4 separate regions of the Homo sapiens genome follow, and regions 2, 3 and 4 are each linked to region 1. Evidence: promoter capture Hi-C in 16 types of primary human blood cells and fetal thymus (Javierre and others, 2016). All regions are on one chromosome and are shown on one strand. Each heading gives the region's core, a stretch centred on a gene start or on the middle of the fragment in contact. The rest is flanking DNA. Distances are from core to core; before and after follow the strand shown.

Region 1 (5,813 bases), core at 1,940-4,439:
CCTCTCCACAACACCAACCCCTTCCCTTCCAAACAACTTAACTTATTCACTGTCACCCAGAGTCAGCTTTCATGCCGCCAACCCCTGCTCATGCTGCTTAATCCACCTGGAATGCTCTCCAGCCACGAGTCCACCTTTACAAATCCTACCCATCCTTTGGAACTCAGCTCAACTCCTCTCTTCCTCTATAAGGTGTTTTGGAGTCAACCTAAGGTATCTCTCTCTCTTCTGAACTTCCAGAACAATTTCTATAATTACTTGACAAATAATCACCTAAGCTTTATAAGGCTTTTATCTTCTCTTTCTTTTCCTTTCTTTTTTTCTTTTCTCTCCTTCCTTCCCTTCCTTCCTCTTTATCTGTCTCTGTCTCTCTCTCTCTCTTTGTGTCTCTGTCTCTCTCTGTTTTCTTTCTTCTTTTTCTTCTAAGAGACAGGGTCGTGCTCTATTACACAGGCTGGAGTACAGTGGTGTGATCATAGCTCACGGCAGCTTTGAACTCCTGGGCTCAAGCAATCCTTCTGTCTCAGCCTCCTGATGTTGTTTTCTTGAACTATTCTTTAAATCAATAGAAAATTCCACCTTTCTCCAGGTCTTCATTGAGATGTCACCTCTTCGAGAGGTAAGCAGCACATCTTGTAGTTCTTTGGATACTCCTAGCTTATCTCCTAGAGTACCTTGCACACAGTAGAATTAAATTGCAGCATTCGGCCGGGCATGGTGGCTCACACCTATAATCCTAGTGCTTTGGGAGGCCAAGATGGGAGGATTGCTTGAGGCCAGGAATTCAAGAACAGTCTGCTCAACATAGCAACTCTAAGGGCCCATCTCTAAAAAATATAAATATAAATATAAATAAATTGCAGCATTCTCTTCTGTACACATAGGAGTTGTTAGGCTCACCTTAGTAATCTATTTTGAGATTCAAACTTCACACTTAAGAGACTTAATGCTTTAAAAAAAAAAGCAGAAATTCTAAGTGCCTTCCCTCAATTTACTTTTTAAAAACCACAAGAGTTTTAATTCTATTACAGAGGAGTAGTCCTACAAACTAATGTAGCCCTGTTAGACTCTATGCCTTCAATTTCAAATTCTGAAAATTCTGCAAAAGCTCTGGCTAAGCCCATGTATTTGCTGGAGGTGAAAGATGGAGGTTAAAATGAAAGGCTTCATATTCAACTGTTACTACATGGTCTTGTATACAGTATGTACATAATAAATGTACCAATGTCTGAAAAACTGAAATGATTATAACTGAGAGTGACAAAATTATAAAGGCATTTCTCAAAGCACACAACTTATTTCCTGTGGGGGAGAGGAGTAGAATCTCTTAATTTAAAACAACCTTAATCTATGAAATTGCTATGTAACTTACCCCTTTATCTATTTTATGTGCACTTGGGAAAACTTAAAACAGTTTTACTAATATGGATTTGCCAGGCACTAATCTTTGAAGTATGTATACACATATTATTAATAATTCATTTAACCCTCAGGACAACCCCAATCCTACAGACGGGAAGACTGAGGCACAGAGAGGTTAAGTAACTTGCTCAAAGATCACAGCAAGAATGCAGTGGAACTAGAATTTGAATCTCAACAGTCTGACTCTTAATCACTATGATAATGGGTATTGGTTATAGCTGATGTAGAGGTATATCATTTTGATTAATATTTGGGGTGATTTCTATAAAAGTTGTACATCCAAACCTTGATCAGAAATGTAACATCCTATCATTATGCTGGTATGTAATCAACCTGATTGACCCCTGTCAACTGGATTGACAGGGGTAGTTAATAATGAAATTAGGGTTAAGCACCCAAGCCTAGATTATGACTTTCACTTTATAAGCTTAAGGAATGATGTTTAGCTATAAACCTTAGAAGAAATGCAGCCAAAGCTTGCAGGGAAACATACACACGCACACCAAAACTCAGCTATTTTGAAATTCCACTTACTTTAATGTTTAAGTCAAACTACTTTAAAACTGTTTACATATTACTCTATCAAGGGTGAAATAATCGCATGTAAAGGGCTTTCTAAAACAAATCCACATCTTGGAAGCCCATTTTGGGGCGTTGAGTTGTGACTACGTTCTCAAGGATGTTAATAACACAAGAGCTCCATCCACTAACTCCTTGAAAAAAACCAAAACCATGAACGTCTTGTCAAATTCAGACAGTTTATCTTGGCACTGGCAAGTACAGCAGTCTCTTCGATGTCTGGAAACGTGTCTAATTACGTTTAGAGAGTAACTAAAAAAATAGCCAGTGTCCCGGAACAGACAGCTCAGGGATCACTCCATAGCATCCTGAATGACAGGATGGAACTACGCCAGGAGGAAAAAAAAAAGAAGGGCGAAGAAAGAAAGAAAAGAAGCAAGTGTAAAGCCGGGATGAGACGCCAGCCTCTCTCCAAAATAATCCTCCAGTCCTCCTAGGGCCTTCGGGGCCACCGCAACTCTCGTTCAAGTTATTTCCCTTCAGTTTCCATGAGGTCACCGGCCCGCCCACATCCCTCACCTGGCGCGGGGAAGCGCGCCCTCCCGCGCGGCACACCCTCTGCACCTAAACCCCGGACAGCGCCCAGGGCTCCCCTCTCAGGGAAGCGCGGCCCTTGAGCTCGACACGCCCCCCGCACCCCAAAGCGGCCGCACCCCAGGGGCGTCCGCTCTCGGGAAAGCGCAGCCGCGGAGCTTGGCAGACCCCCGGACACCGCAGCCCGGCCGCGCCTCCATCCCTGGAGCTTGGGCGCTCCCGACACCCCGGATCCGGCCGCGCCCCGAGGCGCCCCCTCTCGGGAAAGCGCAGCCTCGCGCCCCTGCGCGCGGCCGCTCCGCCCTCACCTGAGCCTGAGGTTGGCCATGAACTCGGGCATGGAGACGGTGTCCATCAGCACGAAGTCTGCCTTGCCGAATTCCAGGCTCTCCTGCTCCGCCATGGCGCCAGCGCGGGGGCTCAGGTGGGCGCGCTCGGGCCTCCGGGGCCGCTCCGTGGGCCCGCGATGAGCTCGGGAGGGGCCGGGGCGAGGCCGCGCCGCGAGGCTACGGGGAGGGGGCGCGCACGCCGCTCGGCGGGTCCGGGCCGGACAGAGGCCGCCTCGCTGCTCCTCGGCGCCTTCTCGGCCGGCGCGGCTCCGAACGGGACGCACCCGACAGTTTCCGCTCCTCCCGCCGCGGCTGCCGGGCGCTGTAGGGGCCGGGACACCGAGACGGAGACGGCAGCGGCTGGTCCCGCCTCCAGCCTGGGGCTCGTCCCGGCTCCGCCCCGCCCGGGCCTCCCGGCTCCGCCCCTCCCGGCCCACTGAGGAGCCCGCCCCAGCCGCGGCCCTGGCCGCCGCCTCTTCACCTGGGCGGCGCGCACGCGCGGGTGGGCGGCGGGGACGCGCGCTGGGCCGGGCGGCGGCAGCTGGGTGGCAGCGCCCCCTGGGGACAGGCGCTGGGATCTCAGGCGGCCAAGAGGATGGCCGCCTGCCGCCCACACTTGGTAGCTGCCAACAAAGTTAGAAAAGTAGTTCGTGGAGCTTTTCGCGAGGACAATTCATTATGATTCTGTCACCCTGCTCCAAAACCCACTCCCGCCTCTCTACTCACACCCTGCCCATTCTTGAAGTGGTGGTTCAAGCACAGACTGAGAGGTAATAATAATGGCTAACATTTTTGGGGCACCAAAAATGCCCAGAGCTGTTCTCAGCGCCTTAGAGAACTTTTAAGAAACTTGCCATACGACTAGGAAGTGGAGCAGCTGCGGTTTCACGCAGGTCATTTGACTTAGGAGCCGCAGCGTTCAACCACGTCTGACTACCTCCATTCTTCAGTGGCCCATTTTCTCTTCCACTCATCCGAGCATGTCATCAGACATTACCTTATATGATTATTAAGTTTTTAATATATCTTTGTATCATCTCTCCAGGATTATTGCGGATGTCTTGAGCATGGGACCATTCTTTTTGCATCCACCAAATAACTATTGTACTACTTTGCATATATAAATATGAAATCCATACTGGTTCAGTGGAATGAAGTGAGTTGTAAGTAGTCTCCAATTTATTGATACATTGGTTGAGCTTGGAAAATTCTTTTTGAACTCAATGTATTTTCCCAAAGAAAATATACTACAAATGACTTTCTTTCTTTTTTTTTTTTTTTTCTTTTTCTGGAGACAAATTCTCCCTCTGTCACCCAGGCTGGAGTGCAGTGGTGCAATCACAGCTCACTGCAACCTCAAACTCCTGGGCTCAAGCAATCCTCCAGCCTCAGCCTCCTGAGCAGCTGGGACTACAGGTGTATGACACCATGCCCAGCTATTTTTTTTAAATAAATGACTTTCTAAGGTATCTACATTTATTCAGTCCTGTGTTTCTGTTAGGACATCTTCTATTACAAAATCTACGAGGAAATCTAGAGGCCTCCAAGGACCTGGCTGGGCTTCAACTCTGGCTGAGTTTGAGATGAGTAAACCAGACTGAAGGACCTTGCCCAAGGCCTGCTTCAGCTGCCAGCCACCCACACTTGCTAAGAGAAAGGAAAGGAGCTTTGTCACCTCCTGAGGGACTGCCTCTGCCATCAGAAAACCACCCCAATCCCTGGCACCAGCAGAGCTGGGTTGCATCTGACTACCGTTAGCAGCTGTCCTTCAGAAGGAGGAGATCCACCTGTCTCGATATCAGTGTCCTCATTTGTGGAATAAAAGCTCTGGAATAAGGTAGGACTGTCCTATGGTTGGGTCATTTGTGGAGGTGTCGGTCAGTGGCTAAGTAGGTTATTGCATAGGGTATGGTTGTATTCCTAATGTTTGTATTGGCATGTTTTAACATAAGCAGAACTGAACTTCAAGAAGGAAAGAAAGAAATCTCAAACTGTATGCACTTTGGAGCATCCAGGGACCACACCCCAAAACCTTTTGGTAAATTATATATGTGTGTTCCCTGAGCTCTGTAGGTGTTAAAAATTAGGGCAAAATCCCAGGTACCAGGAAAAGAAACATCACGGCTTGCAGATGATGAGAGAGTTGCAGAAATTGTACAGTGGTTAGGAGCTATGGTGGGATACAATGTGGTTTCCAAATGGCCAAAGTAAGAGATCCTCATTTTAATCAACATCTTATATAGGAACCCAACATATAAAACACATATACAACATATGCAAAGGGTATTTTATTAATTTCTTGTATAAGTCCAAATTAGTATAAAATTAGGCATTGATGCTCTCATGATGAACCCAAATCTGCTCAATGGGGCTCACTATTAGCCTCAGGATTCCAGTTTACTTTTGTATGTTGTTTTCATTGTACTGTGTCAAGCAAATTCTTGTTTGTATAACTAAGCAGTAATTTGTTACCCATACAACTTTACATTCAGCATTTCTAGGCCAATGTGCAGTTACAACATTATTAATCAATGACACACTTGAGCAAAGTTCAGGTATATGCACAGCCGGCAGGAGAGACTGAATACTCTGGTCTGCATTCAGTCAAGGTAACCTAGAGCAGATTAGCTCATTATGAATGTTCTTTGTGATAAAATTTGAATAGAAACACATTTGGAGATGCATGTTTTTGTTACAGTTTAAAATATACAAAAAATAAAACAAATAAAAGTTTATATCCCCAATCATGAGACACACAGACACCATGAGCCTCCTGATATGGTCTCCTGAAAAAGACACATATCATTTACCTGCTAAAAATACGTAAATGGAATCTAATCATGAAGAAGCATCAAACAAACTCACATTAAGGGGCATCCTACAAAACAATTGACCTGTATTCTTCAAAAATATCAATGATGTGAAAGACAAAGAGGCTGAGGCACATCA
Region 2 (5,813 bases), core at 1,571-4,070, 120 kb before region 1:
CTGATTACATAATTTCAAAGGAGATAAGTTAGAAAATAGACTTTATTCACACTAAAAAATGGCAGTGTCAGAGATTTACATGGAACTCTGGAGAGGCAGAAATGTTTGCCCCCTTTTTCTATGGATGTGAAGGAGCAAGGGCCTGTTTTCCCTTTAGCATATGGTTACTAGACAAGACTATGGGTAGGGAAGTCTCAGGGGCGATGATGATGTGTTCCTCTTCTAACACAAATTTCTTGAACAAATATTAATAGCAAACATATTCCATGCAAATGGAATATTCCATGCAAATGATATGTCCATATCAGCACAAAGGTCTGATAAGCACAATTGTCACCAATTACTACAGATATGTGATCTGTTTATCACTTTTTTAGATCCTGAAAAATGGAGAGTTAAAAGGATACCCATTTATTTAATGAATAAGTTTCTCTGTAATAACTAGAATTACAACTAGAATCTCTCTGTTTTCAAGGAAGTCATATGATCTGAAGAAGTACAGCAGAGTGCACAACACATTTTGTTACTGAGGATTACAGTAAAAAGTCAAGGACAAAAGCTATTTTCCATGCCAGAATTATCAGATGCAGGAGTAAAATTCTAGCACATGAGCAAGGACTCTACATCTATTGGTTACAAATGACATCATGCTTTCTAAAGAATCATGCTCATTTTTCCTGTTTCTACCAAATTGCATAGTCTGGAGCTCCCTCTCCTGGATTAACATGATTTTATCAATTTCTTCATACTATAAACCAGAGAGGCAGAATTTATCCACAGCAACAAATCATTTAATGAATGTTTATGACTTTTCTTTCTTATTAAAGGGGACATTCTTTTATCCCAACATATAAAGTCGTTGAACTCCATCAAACAATAAGGAGAACCTCACAGATAAAAGGAAGAAGGTGTCATTAAACACATTACCTTTCGGCTGGAAAAATGGGCGTGTTTGCCCAATTTACTGTTAAGTGCTTCAAGAAACATTTCATCGGTGACTTTGCCGACATTCATGCAAGCATCATCAAGGATTGCAATGATCCCTTTGTGCTGTTGCTCCACGAGGTCAACAATGATCTGATTGTTGAAGTAGTCAATCTGTAGGACACAGCAAGGAGGGAATTCTGAAGAGAACAGTGACCAGGCCAGGTTAAACCCTGATGCTCCCATTTGTATCAGGAGTTCAGGTAAAACTACTTTGGTGTCAAATGTGTGAATAACATTAAAGAGGTCTTACGCTAAAAAGAGTACACATTCTAACAGAGGTTTATTTTTAAATTTCTTTGTTAACTTTCTATCATGAAATACACCGTCTGAGATTAGTACAGCCCAAGGCAAAGATAATAAGGTAGACACCATTTCTCCCATTACAAACTCATTTTAATCCTGCCTCCAGATCCCACACCCAACCCTACTCCTTCATACCAATCTGCCTGCCATTAACTGTAAGGTCCACCTTCCACAAAGGGCCAACAAATAACCTTAAAGTATTATCTGATATACTACTTCATAATAAAGTTAAGGTACTACACAAAACTTGCAATTTTATAAAAGTAGGGTACAAGTTAAATGTTTAGTTCTAGAAATTTTGTGCAATATGTTCATAACGATGGCTGCAGTTGCCACAAAGTGCCTCGTTTACCTTTAAATACTGTTAATGTGTCACGCATGCAGATGGAAGGGGTGGAACTGTGCACTAAAGTGGGGGCTTTAACTGTAGTGTTTGGCAGAGTTGCCTTCTACCTGCCAGTTCAAAAGTTCTGTTTTCATGCAGAATATATATACTAAAAAATTTCAGTCTTTTAAACAGCCTTACTCTGATTCAGCCTCTTCAGATACTCTTGTGCTGTGCAGTAGTGGCTCTATGTGTAAATGCCATGCACTGAGGGTACACAAAAATATCAACATTATGTGTACAGGATAATGCCTCATCCCAATCAGATGTCCATTTGTCATTGTGTTTGTTAACAACCCTTTATCTCTTAGTGTTAAATAAACTCCACTTAAAACGGAAAAAAAAAAAAAAGAACTTGCATTTTTAGTTACATGACCCTGAATGACTAAAATCCAAAAGAGCATTTCTTTTGGTTTCCCCAAAGTTAAAAAGCTTCAATAGAATTTTGAACAATTTGAAAAAATTCAGTAGAATTTTTACATTTTTCTAGGCATAATATAAAGAATTTAATTCTGAGAAATAAATATCTATAAAAGATAAGAAAAAGCTTTTCCTTTACTTCCACAAGGTGAATGAAGTTATAAATAACTTCTGGCTTTTCAGCAACTATACATGTACAAGGTTTGTCCAACAATCCTCTGCCACACCTGTTTATTCTGACAGCCTGCAATGTACCTATCACTACACACAGAAGGCACACAAAGAAAGGCCAACTCAGGCAAGCTGCACATCTCAAAGAGGGGCAGCTTATGATCACACAGTTTAATCTTGCTATGTCCCATCTTACGCAGGAGTTACCTAAACTGATTGCTGTCTCCATTACCTTCTATAAGGTCTATATACTCATAATAGACCATTCAAGTGACTCATGTATTCCCATTTCATGCTTTAAAATCCAAGGTTTTATGCCAGTTATTTGTACATGGCTTTTAGCTCCATTTCTAGTCTTGCATGTTCTCTTCTGTATCTTATGGACTGAAACCTGTAAACTGGGTAGTTTTTACTTTGTTTTTTATACTTTTCTGATCTGTCTAAACTAAAGTTTCTCAAATAGGGGAATAGGGGGAATTTTGCTCACCAGGGGACATTTGGCAATATCAGGAGACATTTCTAGTCAAAATGGGGTAGGGGTGCTACTGTCATTTGGTGGGTAGAGGCCAGGGGTGCTGCTAAACATCCTACAATGCATAGAACAGCCTCCACAACAAAGAACTATCTGGCACAAAATCTCAGTAGTACTGAGGTGAAGCAGTGTAGGTCTAAATATTTACTTTCATTATGGGCATTTATTACATTTCTAATTAGGGAGAAAAGTTATTTCCATCTTTGGAAAAAAAATCCTAAAAATACTCAAAAAGCAGGAGCTCTATATTAATAGTTGACATCTTAGACTTCGGGACTGTGAAATTAAAGACGAAGTCTTTTGTCCCAGGGACTAAAGAATTACCTTCCCTAAAATCCCAATTATATTATTAAAAGCTATTGGTCTCTGCTAGTAACTTTCAGTTTGTAAGTTTAATACTGCTTCAAACATTGCTTAAACCAGTAGTTTTCAAACTAAGTTCTTCCAGCAACTTGGCATTCCCGTAAGGTTTCCTAAGGGATACCAGGAGCCAGAAGACTTGTGATGGGGTAGCTTAGGGACATGGGGCTCTGGCCTTTCATACCCACTCCAGATAAAACAGCTTTGTGCTTGAGTATCAAGTTCTCAATAGTTAAAATGATTTGCAAACTACAGCATCGAAAGCTTTTAAAAGTGAATGTACCAGATAACCAGACATTATGAACCTCCTGGTGGAAGTTCACACACAGTCTATGAAATGGGCTGTGGAAAAAAACTGACTCTGAATCCAGTCAAGACTCTAGATCTAACAACCAATATACAGGACATACAAGAAACAGAGAAACATATTAAATGGCACCTGAGGAATGCAATTAGCAAAATCCAGACTGTGGGGAACTCCATAACAAATGACTCATTCTCTTCAACACAAGATTGCAAAGAGAGATCATTCAAGGAAAAAAAGAAACATGGAGAAAATCTATAGATATGCAAGAGACCTATCAATCAATCATAATGTAAGAAACTTATTTGGATCCAAATTTAACCTGCAAAACAACAACCAGAAGACAATTAAGGAAATATGAAACATGTATACTGACTGGATATTTTATGATATTAAGGAATTTTTGTTAATGTTTTAGGTATGATAATGGCATTGTGATTATGGTTTTTGTAAAACTCTCTTAGAGAAATACATGGAAATATTTACTGAATAGATACCCAATTGAATAGATGAAATAATGTGATATCTGAAATTTGCTTCAAAATAATCTGGGAGTAGGTGGGTATAGTACAGATGGCATAAGACTGGCAATCAACTGGTACGTGTTAAAGCCAGGTGATGGGTATATAGGGTTTACTGTACTATAGTCTGTCTTCTTAATGTGTGTTTAAAATTTTCCATAATAAAAAATCTTTTAAAAAGAATCACTATGTTTAGAAGTTTGGGGTTTTACCCAGAATAGAGATTCTAATTGTGGGGGGATCTGCCATGTAGTAAGTAACTGTTACCTTGGAGTTAGCCTTCTGCTCCCTCTAGGACAAATAGTTCTTGGTTTATTTAGCGAAAATTTTTTGCATTTTGGGATTCTTAATTCTTTTTGAGATGTTTGGAACAGTCCACTGCATTACTTACCCTGTTGTCAATTATGTCTGTGAAATTTGATATTCTGATTGTGAAAGGATATTTTTGACTAGTACCTTGGAATCACATTTGAATAACAAGTTTTATGATTAAATTTGGTATTAAAAATCCAAGCTTCAGTTATACCGTGTATTATATTATACAACAGTTTCATTCTTAGAAAGCTTCATATACACTTAATTGAACTGAATTAAATTTTAATTGTATTAGGAGAGTTCATTATTTAAGTCAAACTATAGATAATTCTTATATAAAATAGCCCTTTGGTTTATATGCAGATAGGTAAAATTTATGCCAATATACCTGAGCAACTGTTTTATGGTATTCTAACGTTTAACACATGATGGAAGGCAGATACAATTTTGAGGCGGGAAAGCTATTTGTTATATCACTGTCTCTTTATTTCAGAATGAGAGGAAATAGAAAATAGGTAGGAAGGAAGATAAAAGTCATTTAAATATAGTATTTCAAATATTTTTTTGCTGCTATTATATTGGATAACAAAAAACAAATACTGGCTTCATTTCTATTCTCTGGCAAGAGGATGAACAATCATATAAACTCAAACTACAGAAACTTAAAAGTTTTTGTATTTTTCAAGTTTATTCTCAAAATTGCTTAAAAATACAAACTTACAAGAAAAATTACTATGTCTCATTTCTATCATAAACAGAAGGTCTTATCACAGGAAATTTAAAAACCAAACAAGTCATGCCTTTTAGCTTTGATCTCTGTGGTTTGCACTGTGCACCCATTATACTTTCCAGCTATATCTTACCAGATTAGTTTGCCTCTGACAAATACAAAAGTTCCCAAAGATTGATTAGAGTAGAGGTGATAATTGAAGTGTAATACACAAGAAAATGCAAAGTAAAACAAGTATTTTAATGTGTAGGTTTCAGAGAATATAAACAACATTAACTGAAGACAATAAAATACCATATAGTCTACAAAGTAGAAGAGGAGAAAAAGGAGGAAAAAGGGAAGAAGAAACTAGATTCTGAAGCAAAGTTCAGCCAATTTAAGGTATAACTTAATAAAGTATGCTAAACCTAACAGACAGATATAAACCAGTAAGTCCACGTGGTAGCAGCCATAAAGTGAAAACAGGTTTACTGGTTCTAACTCAGGATGTTCTGGGCATCAACAAGGCAGTCTATCAAATTATAGCAATCCCACCTAAAAATGATGAAATTAATTGTATTTACATATCCCAAAAAGGAAAGCTAAGGTTCAGATGTTTCAAATACCCCCAAAAGATCAAGAAATACCTAAAATAAAATTTGACATTATCAATAATATGAGAAACACATGAAGGCATTTTCCATAAGAGTCCACTCACATGTTTCCAGGGGATCCCTTCCCGCTGGTATTCCTCTTGTTCTTGCTTCAGAACCAGCTGAATAAATAGCTGCTGCAGTTTCTCATTG
Region 3 (5,813 bases), core at 1,990-4,489, 100 kb before region 1:
ATGGAAAAACTTGAAAGCTGAATAGGAATGCCTCAAAGGTCACAAAATTATTTCTAGGGTACATCAAAATCAACATTTGAACAAACAGTGAGTGGAGAATCAAAGTGCATTTTAATTTTGTCTTACTAACTTGCCTTTGGCCAAATCATATGGAATCTTCTTAGGAGGTAGGCTTCCTAGTCCTATCAATATTTTTATAGTGTGAAAATAAACGGAATAGGGATAGGATTAAAAATTAAAATAAAACATTGAATGTAGGAAAAAACTTCTTTCCTGTCAGATGGTGATAAAATATCATAATTGATTTTAAGCAAAGTTGTTGATTCAAAAATGTGCTGAATCTCTGTCCTTGAGAATTTAAAAAATAGAACAGGATAAAAGAGATGTTTATTTGCCTAAAGATAGCAGGCTTGACCAGATAATTATTGAATGTCTCTTCTAATCCTTTGACTGATTTTCTATTGGAGCAATCTCAAAGAGGAAATTCTCACCTTTAATTGAGCTCCCACATGAATATAGTTGTAGGATGAAAGGGATTTCTGGAGATGTAGAGAGCGTAGCATTTGTTCTGAACCTCCTTGGAGTAGCTGAAAAATATTTAATTAGAAATAAATTGGCCAGACATACATTGAACCAAACATGAACTTAGTGGTAATCTAGCTTTTATTCATTTTCTGGGCTTAATTCACTTATGTCTTCCTGTTTCTAGCTTTGAAGTTTTGCTTGTTTGTTTTTTTAAACATTCAAGGTAAATGGCTTCAATGTCATCAGTTACAGAGAATGTTATGCAGTCATAAAGAAAATTACTCTGAAAATGTCTCATCTCATTTACAATATAACTGGCATAAAAGTTTCTTGCTTTGAATGCCGTCATTTGTAAAACAGGATCCTATGCTCTGTGGTGGTTGCTTGCTTAGCAGCCTCACTATAGACAGGATATAGTTCTGTCTCAGAATTTAGAAAAAGTCAATATTGCTACGGAAGTAAGAAACATCAGCAGACAGTCATATGCTGAATCACACTGGAAACAAACAGCTTTTCCTCATCAATCTGTACCTCTCAGGAAAAGAGGACAGCTGGGGAACCATGATTGTAGTATTGGATAAAGATAAATTTTAATACTTTCACCCAAGTGGGAAGAACACTGGGAAAAAGTTACAGGTTATTGAAATAAACAGAACTCTTTTATATTTGGTAGAAAAATAGCTTATTTAAAACATGGCAAATTGCCAACAGAACCATAAACACAATATTGACAGTGCTTTTATATAGAGCATGTTTTTGGAAGGTATTAGGTTTAAATTCTCTAAATTAAACTGTATGCTTTTGTTTACTTAAAAAGTCTAATTATCAGATTTTAAAAATTGATTTTTAAACTTAATATACCAGAACTTATATATACAAATGAGTAGTGTCTATTAAAGCAGTTACCTAGAAGAAACTGAATTCGACTGAATTGCATCCAATTGTATTGTCACCGTTCAGTTACTTTCTGTTAACCTTGATTTACATTAATTTGGGCTTTAAAAACTTACAATAATATATCATACTTGTTTTCTAAGTGTAAAGACTTGCCAACAGGAAGGCTATTTAAAAGATTTTGCTTTAAAATCTAAAAGCACTCTTGAAAATAAATACTCAAATTTTTTTCTAAACTTGATGGATTAAAAAGGCAATCCTCCCTAGAAGTTATAAATCCAGATTGTTTTTTTAAAAGTAATCATATTGCTTTTAGTGTGTATGAGTGAAACAAACTGAATTTGTATTCTGATCTCTAGAACTCCCAAATATGGAAACAACAGCTTCAATTCAAAATAAAACAAAAATTAATTTAACATTTAGAATGTACCATTTCAAAAGCTTTCACAGTCATTAAAGTGTTATCTGTACTGCAAGAAAATATGGGGGATGCTCACCCAAGGCAGTCATCTGGTTGGCTAAGCTCCTGCCAGCTGGGTGGAACAGTCATGTTCATCCAATCTCTTAAGCAGGTAGGGCAGGGCATGTGGTGCGTGCGTGCGTGCGTGCATGCGTGACATGTTACGGGGCCAATGGAGATGAGTGATGCATAGGACAGGGGAAAGCCCAAGACACAAATACTCATTTCCTGCACAACTGGGCAAATGATCAATTATCTGTATAATGGATTACTAACCTGATAGAAAGAATGAAAGCTTCTTTCTCCTGGCTGTTGCACAATCACTCGAGACTAAGAAAAAACACATTAAAATGGTTAACCCGAAAATGTGCCCCTAAAATAAAACAGGAGCCACTTTCTTAGGGAACTGTCAGGCCTCTGAGCCCAAGCCTGCACGTATACATCCAGATGGCCTGAAGCAACTGAAGAATCACATAAGAAGTGAAAATGGCAGATTCTTGCCTTAACTAATGACATTTGGTGCCGTGACTTGGATCGGGGGAGCTCCCTTGGGAGATCAATCCCCTGTCCTCCTGCTCTTTGCTCTGTGAGAAAGACTGACTTACGACCTCAAGTCCTCAGACCAACCAGCCCAAGGAACATCTCACCAATTTTAAATCAGGTAAGCGGCCTCTTTTTACTCTCTTCTCCAACCTCTCTTACTATCCCTCAACCTCTTTCTCCTTTCAATTTCGGCGCCACCCTTCAATCTCCCCCTTCCCTTAATTTCAGTTCCTTTCCTTTTCTGGTAGAGACAGAGGAGACGTGTTTTATCTGTGAACACAAAACTTCAGCACCGGTCACGGATTCGGGAAGACAGTCTTCCCTTGGTGTTTAATCACTGCAGGGACGCCTGCCTGATTATTCACCCACACTCCATTGGTGTCTGATCACTGTGGGGACACTTGCCTTGATCCTTCACCTTGGTGGCAAGCACCACTTTCCTGGGTGGCAAGTACCAACCCCACCCCACTCCCTACCCCCACCCCCCGACCCCGGCCCATGTCTCTACCCTCTCTTTTCTCTGGGCTTGCCTCCTCCACTATGGTCAACCTTCCACCCTCCATTCCTCCTTCTTCTCCCTTAGCCTGTGTTCTCAAGAACTTAAAACCTCTTCAACTCACACCTGACCTAAAACCTAAACACCTTATTTTCTTCTGCAATACCACTTGACCCCAATACAAACTCAACAATGGTTCCAAACAGCCAGAAAACAGCACTTTAAATTTCTCCATCCTACAAGGTCTAGACAATTATTGTCGTACAATGGGCAAATGATCTGAGATGCCTGACGTCCAGGCATTCTTTTACACATCGGTCCCTCCCTAGTCTCTGCTCCCAATGCGACTTGTCCCATATCTTTCTTCTTTCTCTCCTGTCTGTTCCTTTAGTCTCCACCCCAAGCTCTGAGTCCTCTGAATCCTCCTTTTCTACAGGACCTCTCCCCTCCTCCCCAGGCTGTGCCTTGCCAGGCTGAGCCAGGTCCCAATTCTTCCTCAGCCTGTGCTCTCCCACCCTATAATCCTTTTATCACCTCCCCTCCTCACACCCGATCTGGCTTACAGTTTCGTTCCATGACTAGCCTTCCCCCACCTGCCCAACAATTTCCTCTTAAAGAGGCGGCTGGAGCTAAAGGCATAGTCAAGGTTAATGCTCCTTTTTCTTTATCCGACCTCTCCCAAATCAGTTAAATATCCTAAAGACCCCCATGGATTGTATACTCATCTAAGAATGAGTCTTCTCTATGGGGTTTCCCCTGCAATTCTTTGATAATTCTTTTTATTGCTTAAAACAGAGGTCCCTAAAACTTTCTGAAGAATGAAGCTATTTTGATTTTTTTAACCTGGAGCCTAAAGATGGAATTTGGTGGTTGGGGGTGGGGTAAGAATTAGAAGTGGGGAGAATAGGAAGGAATGCTTAGGGAGGAATATTCTCAACATTCCTTTCCCCAGGGTCTGCTGGCATTTCAAAGAGCAATGCCTTATATCCTGTAATAAAAGTCAGTTGAGCAAGATCAATCCATAGAGACCTCTGCCTTAGATGGTTCCAAAAATACTGCTGTTAGGAGAGGGTTCAAAATATGAGTTCATTCAAAAGGATCCTTTTGATTGAATATGTATTACACATAAAGTGAACTGATGAAACATTCTGGAAAAAGGACTGATAATAATACCTGGCATTTCCTGTCCTTTTTCAACTGACTCTGATAATACATTTATTTCCTTAACAGTCCGACTTCAATATAACAAACAAAAATAAAGATTATACTTCATTATATGGCCATAAAGGATGCTATGGCCTAACTGGGATAGGAAACCCTTAACTGAGAAAACCTGTCGGCTTAGATCTGTATGAATTCAAGGTGGAGACTTGATTTTATAAAGCACAAGCTTAACTGTAAAAATGAACTCTATGTATTCTCTTGCAGTCATGTCCACTGATAATCAAGATTAGTTAAGACACAACCAGCTGGGTGCAGCAGCTCATGCCTGTAATCCCAGCACTTTGGGAGACTGAAGCAGGAGGGCTGCTTGAGCCTAAGAGTTTGAGACCAGCCTGGGCAACACAGGGAGACCCCATCTCTACAAAATAAAAAAAAAATTGCTGGGTATGGTGGGCCATGCCTGTGGTCCCAGCTACTCAGGAGGCTGAGGTGGGAGGATTGCTTGAGCCTGGGGGGTTGAGGCTGCAGTGAGCCATGTTCATGCTACTGCACTCCAGCCTGGATGACAGAGTGAGACTCTGTCTCAAAAAACACAAAACCAAACCAGACACAACCTCTCTGGTGGTCCCAAGAAGAAAATTCTAATTGGAATCCTCTAGAAATTGGGCCTATTTTAAGTTTTTACTGACCAAATACAGTTCGCTTCATAATTAGGATGTAAGATCACAAAATACATATATGTTACTATAAAGCAATGAACAAATAGAAACTAGAAGAAAATGAGATATCAAATTAATTAAAATTAAAATGTATAGAAGATGGTGATGTATAAAAAGGCTAGAACTGATTAGTCTTAGATTGACTTTCGGTTAAACCTTACCCAGAAGCTGGCACACACTCATACCTGTGCCCCCACCCATTCACACGCATAGCTAAATCTATCTACAAAGTCCACAACTTTTTCCAACTTGACAGTGTAAGTGCTAAGAAGAGAAGACAAAAGGAGAATACCTTATCATAAAAAGCTAATGAAGAAGGGAGAATAGGATTTAAAGCTATTTTGAGTCAATAAAATAAATTCTATAAATATAATTTGTTTAAACATTCAGCACTTAAAACATTACCCTCAGAAATTAAGCATATTTTACCTTTTCTAGTAAGTAGTTATTGATATGCCCACCAATAGGGTCACCCTTGAAGTCAAAGTTGATATCCATGTATTTTCCAAACCTGCTTGAGTTGTCATTACGGTTGGTTTTGGCATTTCCAAAAGCTTCCAAAACACAGTTGGACTTAAGCAACATATTCTTCACTCTTTAACACAGATAAATGAAAGTCATTATAAAAACTTATAGAGACTAGAATTTTTTAAAAACTGGATTTTGCTAAACCACATACAAATATTTATACAAAGATGCTAACTCCAGCACTGTTTGCAATATCAAAAAAAAAACAAACAAATTAATGTCCACCAATAGGGATAAAAATAAATTTTTGTTTCCCAATATAATGAAATACTATACAGGTGCTAAAAAGAATGAGGTACATCAATATGTACTCACATGGAAATGTCCAGCATATATTAATGAATATAAAATCAAGTTGTCAAATAACATGCATTGCAGGATCCTTGTGTGTGTATGTGTATGTTCACGTGTGTGTGTGTGTGCATACACATGTATCAGCAAATGCTTAAAAATCTGGAGGGATCAGCACACCTTACTATGGTTA
Region 4 (5,813 bases), core at 2,296-4,795, 83 kb before region 1:
ACTTCACACAATCTAGATACAAACAGCAACTTTTATTCTAGAAAAATACAATTAAATGGTATCTACTCCAACTCAACTTCTGAGACAGACTTTTCATTGCTGGAGAAGAAGGTCACAGAATATATGGGTCTCAATTGGAATTGGAAGAATCAGTACAAACTCATAGTATATGCAGGGCAAAGAGAGAGAAGAGGGAGAGAGGAAGAAATAGGTATGCACACACACACATTTCCTAACTCTGTCCACTTAGAGAAACAGTAACACCAGATAAAGGCCTGGAAATACCATTTTTCTTAACTAAAAGGACTCAGGGCTCCTTGAAGAAAAGCGGATTCTATCACTGGAACAGGGAAAGTACAAAATGAGCTTGGACTATCTTGTTGAGCCAGAAAGTAGGAAACGCACATGTCAAAAGGACACAGGAGCAAGATGAATGGACTTTCACTGCACCCATCTGGGACCACATGGGCATTAAAATCATGTCAGTAATGAGCTGGGCATGGTGGCTCACACCTGTAATCCCAGCACTTTGGGAGACTGAGGTGGGTGGATCACCTGAAGTCAGGAGTTTGAGACCAGCCTGGCCAACATGGTGAAACCCCATCTCTACCAAAAATACAAAAATTAATTGGGCATGGTGGCACGTGCCTGTAATCTCAGCTACTCGGGAGGCTGAGGCAGGAGAATCGCTTGAACCGAGGAGGCAGAGGTTGCAGTGAGCCGAGATCACACTACTGCATTCCAGCCTGGGCAGCAGAGCGAGACTCCGTCTCAAAAAAAAAAAAAAAAAAAAAAAAGGATATTGTTGGGACAACTGATAAAATCTGAACATCAGCTATGAATTAGAAACCAGAATTGCGTCAAAATTACACTTTCTGATTTTCATCACTGTATTGTGGTTATGTAAGAGAAGATCCTTGTTCTTAAGAAACACACCCTGAATTATTTAATGATAGGGGCCTGATGTCTCCAATTTATTCTCCAATGGTTACAAAAAATAACTACATACATATATAAAAATATACAAAGAGAAATTAAGAAGCAAATAGAGCAAAATGTAAACAACTGATAAAGAACAAAAGGGGGTTTCTTGTAGTATCGTCTACCTTTTTTGTAAATTTGAAATTATATCAAAATTAGAAGTTGATAATAAAAATCCAACTTCTAATCCTCTTTATATAGTTAATTAATTAATTTAGAATAGGCAAGATAGACTCTTAGTAAAAGACTCAAAAGATGTAAATGAATACACAGTGAAAAGTGTTTCTCTCTCCTCTTTCCTATACCTTCCCTCCTCAGAGGCAACCACTGCTGCTGGTTTCCTGTGAATTCATTTAGAAACAGTTTAGTTGTTGTTTTTGAATGAATGGCAATTTTTTTTTCTCTAATTAAAATGTTTATCTTGGCAAAAGTCTCATGTAAGTAGATAGAGAAAAGCCGAGTTTTTTATGGCTTCATAGTATTCCATTTCATGGGTGATTATACAATAATATATTTAATCAGTCCCTATTGGACATTTAGTTTTGTTACTATGAACAATGCAAGTATAAATACAATGGTAGCTATTTCTTTGTGCATATGTGTATGTATATCTGTAGAACGCACATCTAGAATTCAAATTATTAGTTCAAAGGATATAAGCAATTTAAATTTATGAATTATATTGCCAAATTAGTCTCCAAAGAGACTGTACCAATTTAAACTTCTGCTTATAATGTATGAGACTTTCTGTTTCATGGGTGTGGGTTTTTAAACCAACGATACTGGCCTATTTAGAAAGGACAGAGTTTTATTTTCAAAATACACAAAACTTTGACCCCTTTCTACACTTATGCAATGTTCATTAGGTTACTTTCAATAAGGTTCAGCCCACCTTGCCAGTTCTTAGATGAGAATCTCTCCCAAGGGTGAAAGCATCTTGTTTCTGCTTCTCTTGGCAAAAATCATGGTTTCCATGTGATGGAGTCAATTAGTTTTATCCCCTTGTTAGACTGTGTGTTCCTGAGATGGACAGGGACCATATGTTGGAAAGAGTAGGAGCTTTATTTTATTTTTGTTTTTATTTTTCTAGAGACAGGGTCTCGTTCTGTCACTTAGGCTACAGTGCAGTGGTATGACCATAGCTCACTGTAACTTCAAACTCCTGGGCTCAAGTGGTTCTTCTGCCTCAGGCTCCCCAATAGCTGGGACTACAGGTGTACACCACCATGCCTGGCCAATTTTTTGATTTTTCTGTAGAGACAGGTTCTCTCTATGCTGTCCAGGCTGGTCTGGAGCTCCTGGCCACAAATGATCCCCCTACCTTGGTCTCCAATTATGAGCTTTAGAGTCATACAGCACTGGAGCCCTGGGTTTGAACCCTGGCTCTGCCAGTTACTGATTGTGTGCATTTATAAACATCTGAGTAACTAGTAAGTGTCCATGTGCCAGGTACTATGTCAAGAGCACTCAAGCTGTCTTAAAATGATTTGGAAAAGATGCTTTGTTTTGACCTTTTGTTAACACACTGAAGCCTAGAATTGACAACTTGGAAGAGGGCACTTAAGAAGCACCACCACAGTCCACCAGTGCAGCACTCAAGCTCTTGACATAGTACTTGGCACATGGACACTTACTAGTTACTAGAAGAATAAGACATAGTATTATTGTACTCAAAGGCTTATATAAATAGACAATGCTATGCAGTAAGCACAACGATAGAGGGTTTAAAAACTAGGCTTTTTTTTTTTTTTTAAACTTATTCCCTTCTTGTTCTCATTCTCCTCTGTCTCTCAATCTCTCTCTCTGTTCCAGAAAAGATTTAAGGCAATAACAAAGATAGAAAGAATGTCATGGAAGCTTAGAGAAGGATACCTAAACCAGCTTTAGGAGTGGGAGGCTTCAAAGAAGACTTCCTAAAAATTGTATTGCTTGACATTTGAATTATTTATGCAATTATATAATCTCCACATAGACAGTTCTAACCACTTCTTGGTTTACACTTTCTTAAAATGATTTGGAAAAGGATGCTTTATTTTGATCTTTTGTTAACACACTGAAGCCTAGAATTAACAACTTGGAAGACAGCACTTAAGAACCACCACCACAGCCCATCAGTGCAGCATATGGGTATTCCCAGGCCCATCGATAGCAGAGGAAAGGGTGTATTGATTAAGAAGGTGGACTCTGGGATCTGGCTGCAGTTTAGCACTGACTAGCTCTATGATCACGTGGAAGCTGTTTAACCTCCCTGTGCCTCACTTTCTTCAACTGATATAGTACCTTTCCCTCAGAGGATTGTTACAAGAAGTGAGATACTCTGCATAAAGTGCTCAGCACACTAATTAGTACATGGTAACAGCACAATAATACCAAGTCGTATTTTTATTATGAGCAATAGCAGAAGTCATAAGAATGGCAGGAAATATCTTTCTTCCACTTGAGACCCATTGTTCAGCATGCGGCATCAGTGCTATGTTTCTGTTTAACATCACAGTGAGGGTTACTTCTGCTAGCACAGCGAACGGTGATCCAGCTTGGCTTCATGTTTATAAAGCATTCTTCTAGCAGTTCATGGGGACCCTCTAAGGCCAAATGCCTTCAGTAAAATTGCTTAGGCTTACCACAGGACATAAGAACTAGTTAGGACCACAGGTGGTGGATTAAATGACTGACGTTGTGACTTCATTTCTTGGCTTTCTTCTTCTGGTGCAATATTTCTTCATTTGAGCTGCACAAATGGTAGTTAACCAGAAGATGTGGTCAGGAGATGCCTAGATGAATTATCTTACCTTTCCTCTGCAATGGAAAACAACTGTTTTTGATATATACGTTTTTAGGTGATGCTTGCTTTTTCAAAACACAATTCTTTTATTTATTATGGCATGCCTAATTTTAAATGTTATTGATGTATTTAATTGTATTTGTATCCAGTTGTTTATTCAATCAATCATTAGTTATTAGCACTCATGTTCCAAGCATTGTGCTGGGAGCCACAAGCAGAAGAATAAACAGCAGACTCATCTCCACCCTAATGCAGGCAATGATAAGGACAGACACTAAATGGAGGTCCAGGGAGAGCCAATAGAATGCACTGTACTGGTGGAGGGAAGCAGCAGTGTTTGAGGAATCCAGAGCAGGGCATGTGACTATACCACAGCAGAGAGAGCATAGGGAGAGAGGTGTGGGAGGAGGGCCAGAGCGCGCAAGGCCTTAGGGCTTGTGGACTTTATCCAAGGGTGGAGCTTTAAGTATTGATCACATTTGCTTTTTTGAAAGCTTCCCTTTGGCTGCAGGGTGTAAGGAATTGAGTGCCTGCTAATGGACCAATTAGGAAGCACTACGCTGGTCTCAGGAAGGAATGACGGGTTCTCTGGTTGGGATGGAGCAGTAGAGAGACAGAGAAGTAGACAGGCTTTAAGAGTAGAGATATAATCTATTGGAGACGGTAACTTACTGGGTATGAGAGGCAAGAAAGAAGGAAGTGTCAGGGTAAGTATCTCACATGAGCTACTGAGCAGACCGTGATGCTCCATTAATGAGGATAGGGACAGGAGGCAACTGTGATTCAGACAGACTATGCAATCTGTTTGAGACACCTGAGAGACATCCAAGTGAAGATGTTTCTCACACTTCTTTCTCTCATAGAATTAAACCCGATCCCCTGAACACAAAGTGAACAACACCAAGGATGGCAAACACAGATCATCAGCAGTGGAGAGAGCAAGCAGATAACCACACCATCACGGCCAGCAAACACGGCAAGGAGAACACATACTTCATTGCCCCATTTAAAAGTGGAAAAATATTTTAAAGAGACAGGAGATATCTGGGTTCTATTTAAATTTTTTTTTTTTTTTACTAACTGAATTCATCATACCAAGTTCCTCAGTGATTCAACCTTCCTGGTATAATAGAAACAAACACAATAGCTTCCTCCCATAAAACGTTAACTACTAAGGTCTCATGCAATTCAGTTTTTTAAAAAATACAATAAAGAAGCTATACAATGTCAGCACATGAATAAATCACCATAGCATTATTTAGCTATGAAGTGCTTGTAAGATTCTCCCCGGGGCCTGAAAGCTTAAGGAGATGAATAACTCCTCTCTTCTCAGGCCCAGTTCCAAGGTGCAACTTGGGGCAGCAACTTGCGCCAGCAAGACAGCAGAAGGAGGAAGAGAGTCCGCCTGAAGACAAGTACTCCTAAAGACTGAGAAAGAGGCCATCCGGGTACAACATAGCAGTTACGTCAGACTACGACACTTCCTGTTTACAGGAGACTATAAAACCTTTGCCCCGTCCTCACTTGGTGCTGAGGCCATTTTAGGCCTCAGCCCGCCTGCACCCAGGTGCTCATTAAAACAGCATGTTGCTTCACACCACCTCATGTTGTCTGTTAGCGCGCTCTCGGGGTTCGAACCGATACAAGACCCTTAACGGTGCTGAGTGTCCAATAATGACAGGCATGAAGATTTAAACCAAAACATGAGAATGAAAATTACCTATTAATAATATGACACTGATTTTCTCTTTCAACCAACAATAAACATAATTTATCCAACATAGGGCTCAATATTTATATATTTATTCCTTTTCATCCATTCCATTTAGAAATGATTTCCCATTATGGTAACATTTGGCTACTTGGCATACCTAGGGAAGTAGTTAGCTGCATTTTACCTTAACTGGGGAGTTAGCTTATTTATAAATCAACACTGCTCAGGAAAATGAAGGATACCTGGACCTGATGTAGAAAACTCTTTAGTAGGCATTGACAATTATATGAATTGATAACAATTATGCATTTTAAATAATATTAAAAACCATGTGAA

What was found. Contacts are between HindIII fragments. The CHiCAGO score rates a contact against its expected background, and 5 or more counts as called.
Region 2: a fragment that was not itself captured here is called in contact with the fragment with the promoter of MYO1D in region 1 in 2 of 17 cell types (endothelial precursors and activated CD4 T cells); the score reaches 6.7 in endothelial precursors.
Region 3: a contact is called between a fragment that was not itself captured here and the fragment with the promoter of MYO1D in region 1, in 14 of 17 cell types (endothelial precursors, activated CD4 T cells, total B cells and 11 more). The highest score is 13.8, in endothelial precursors.
Region 4: a fragment that was not itself captured here is called in contact with the fragment with the promoter of MYO1D in region 1 in 15 of 17 cell types (endothelial precursors, erythroblasts, megakaryocytes and 12 more); the score reaches 12.2 in endothelial precursors.

Annotation. Positions count from the first base shown.
Region 1 is chr17:32,873,935-32,879,747 of GRCh38, forward strand. MYO1D (myosin ID) reads right to left here and starts at 3,190. Exons shown (of 22, transcript NM_015194.3): 1 at 2,844-3,190. The coding sequence starts at 2,938. It overlaps MYO1D-DT (MYO1D divergent transcript), which reads left to right and starts at 2,921. Exons shown (of 4, transcript NR_184086.1): 1 at 2,921-2,959; 2 at 3,910-4,027; 3 at 4,366-4,701. RefSeq lists silencers at 2,526-3,515, 2,722-2,909. The HindIII fragment of the contact is 7,647 bases long and covers 1,897-5,813 here.
Region 2 is chr17:32,754,565-32,760,377 of GRCh38, forward strand. MYO1D (myosin ID) reads right to left here. Exons shown (of 22, transcript NM_015194.3): 10 at 5,726-5,813; 11 at 928-1,098. Among named protein-coding and RNA genes, the nearest start is that of MYO1D-DT, 120 kb to the right of the region's middle. The HindIII fragment of the contact is 1,200 bases long and covers 2,221-3,420 here.
Region 3 is chr17:32,770,634-32,776,446 of GRCh38, forward strand. MYO1D (myosin ID) reads right to left here. Exons shown (of 22, transcript NM_015194.3): 4 at 5,231-5,396; 5 at 2,156-2,209; 6 at 492-587. Among named protein-coding and RNA genes, the nearest start is that of MYO1D-DT, 100 kb to the right of the region's middle. The HindIII fragment of the contact is 2,134 bases long and covers 2,173-4,306 here.
Region 4 is chr17:32,790,591-32,796,403 of GRCh38, forward strand. The region is part of intron 1 of MYO1D (myosin ID); the gene reads right to left. Among named protein-coding and RNA genes, the nearest start is that of MYO1D-DT, 83 kb to the right of the region's middle. The HindIII fragment of the contact is 1,419 bases long and covers 2,837-4,255 here.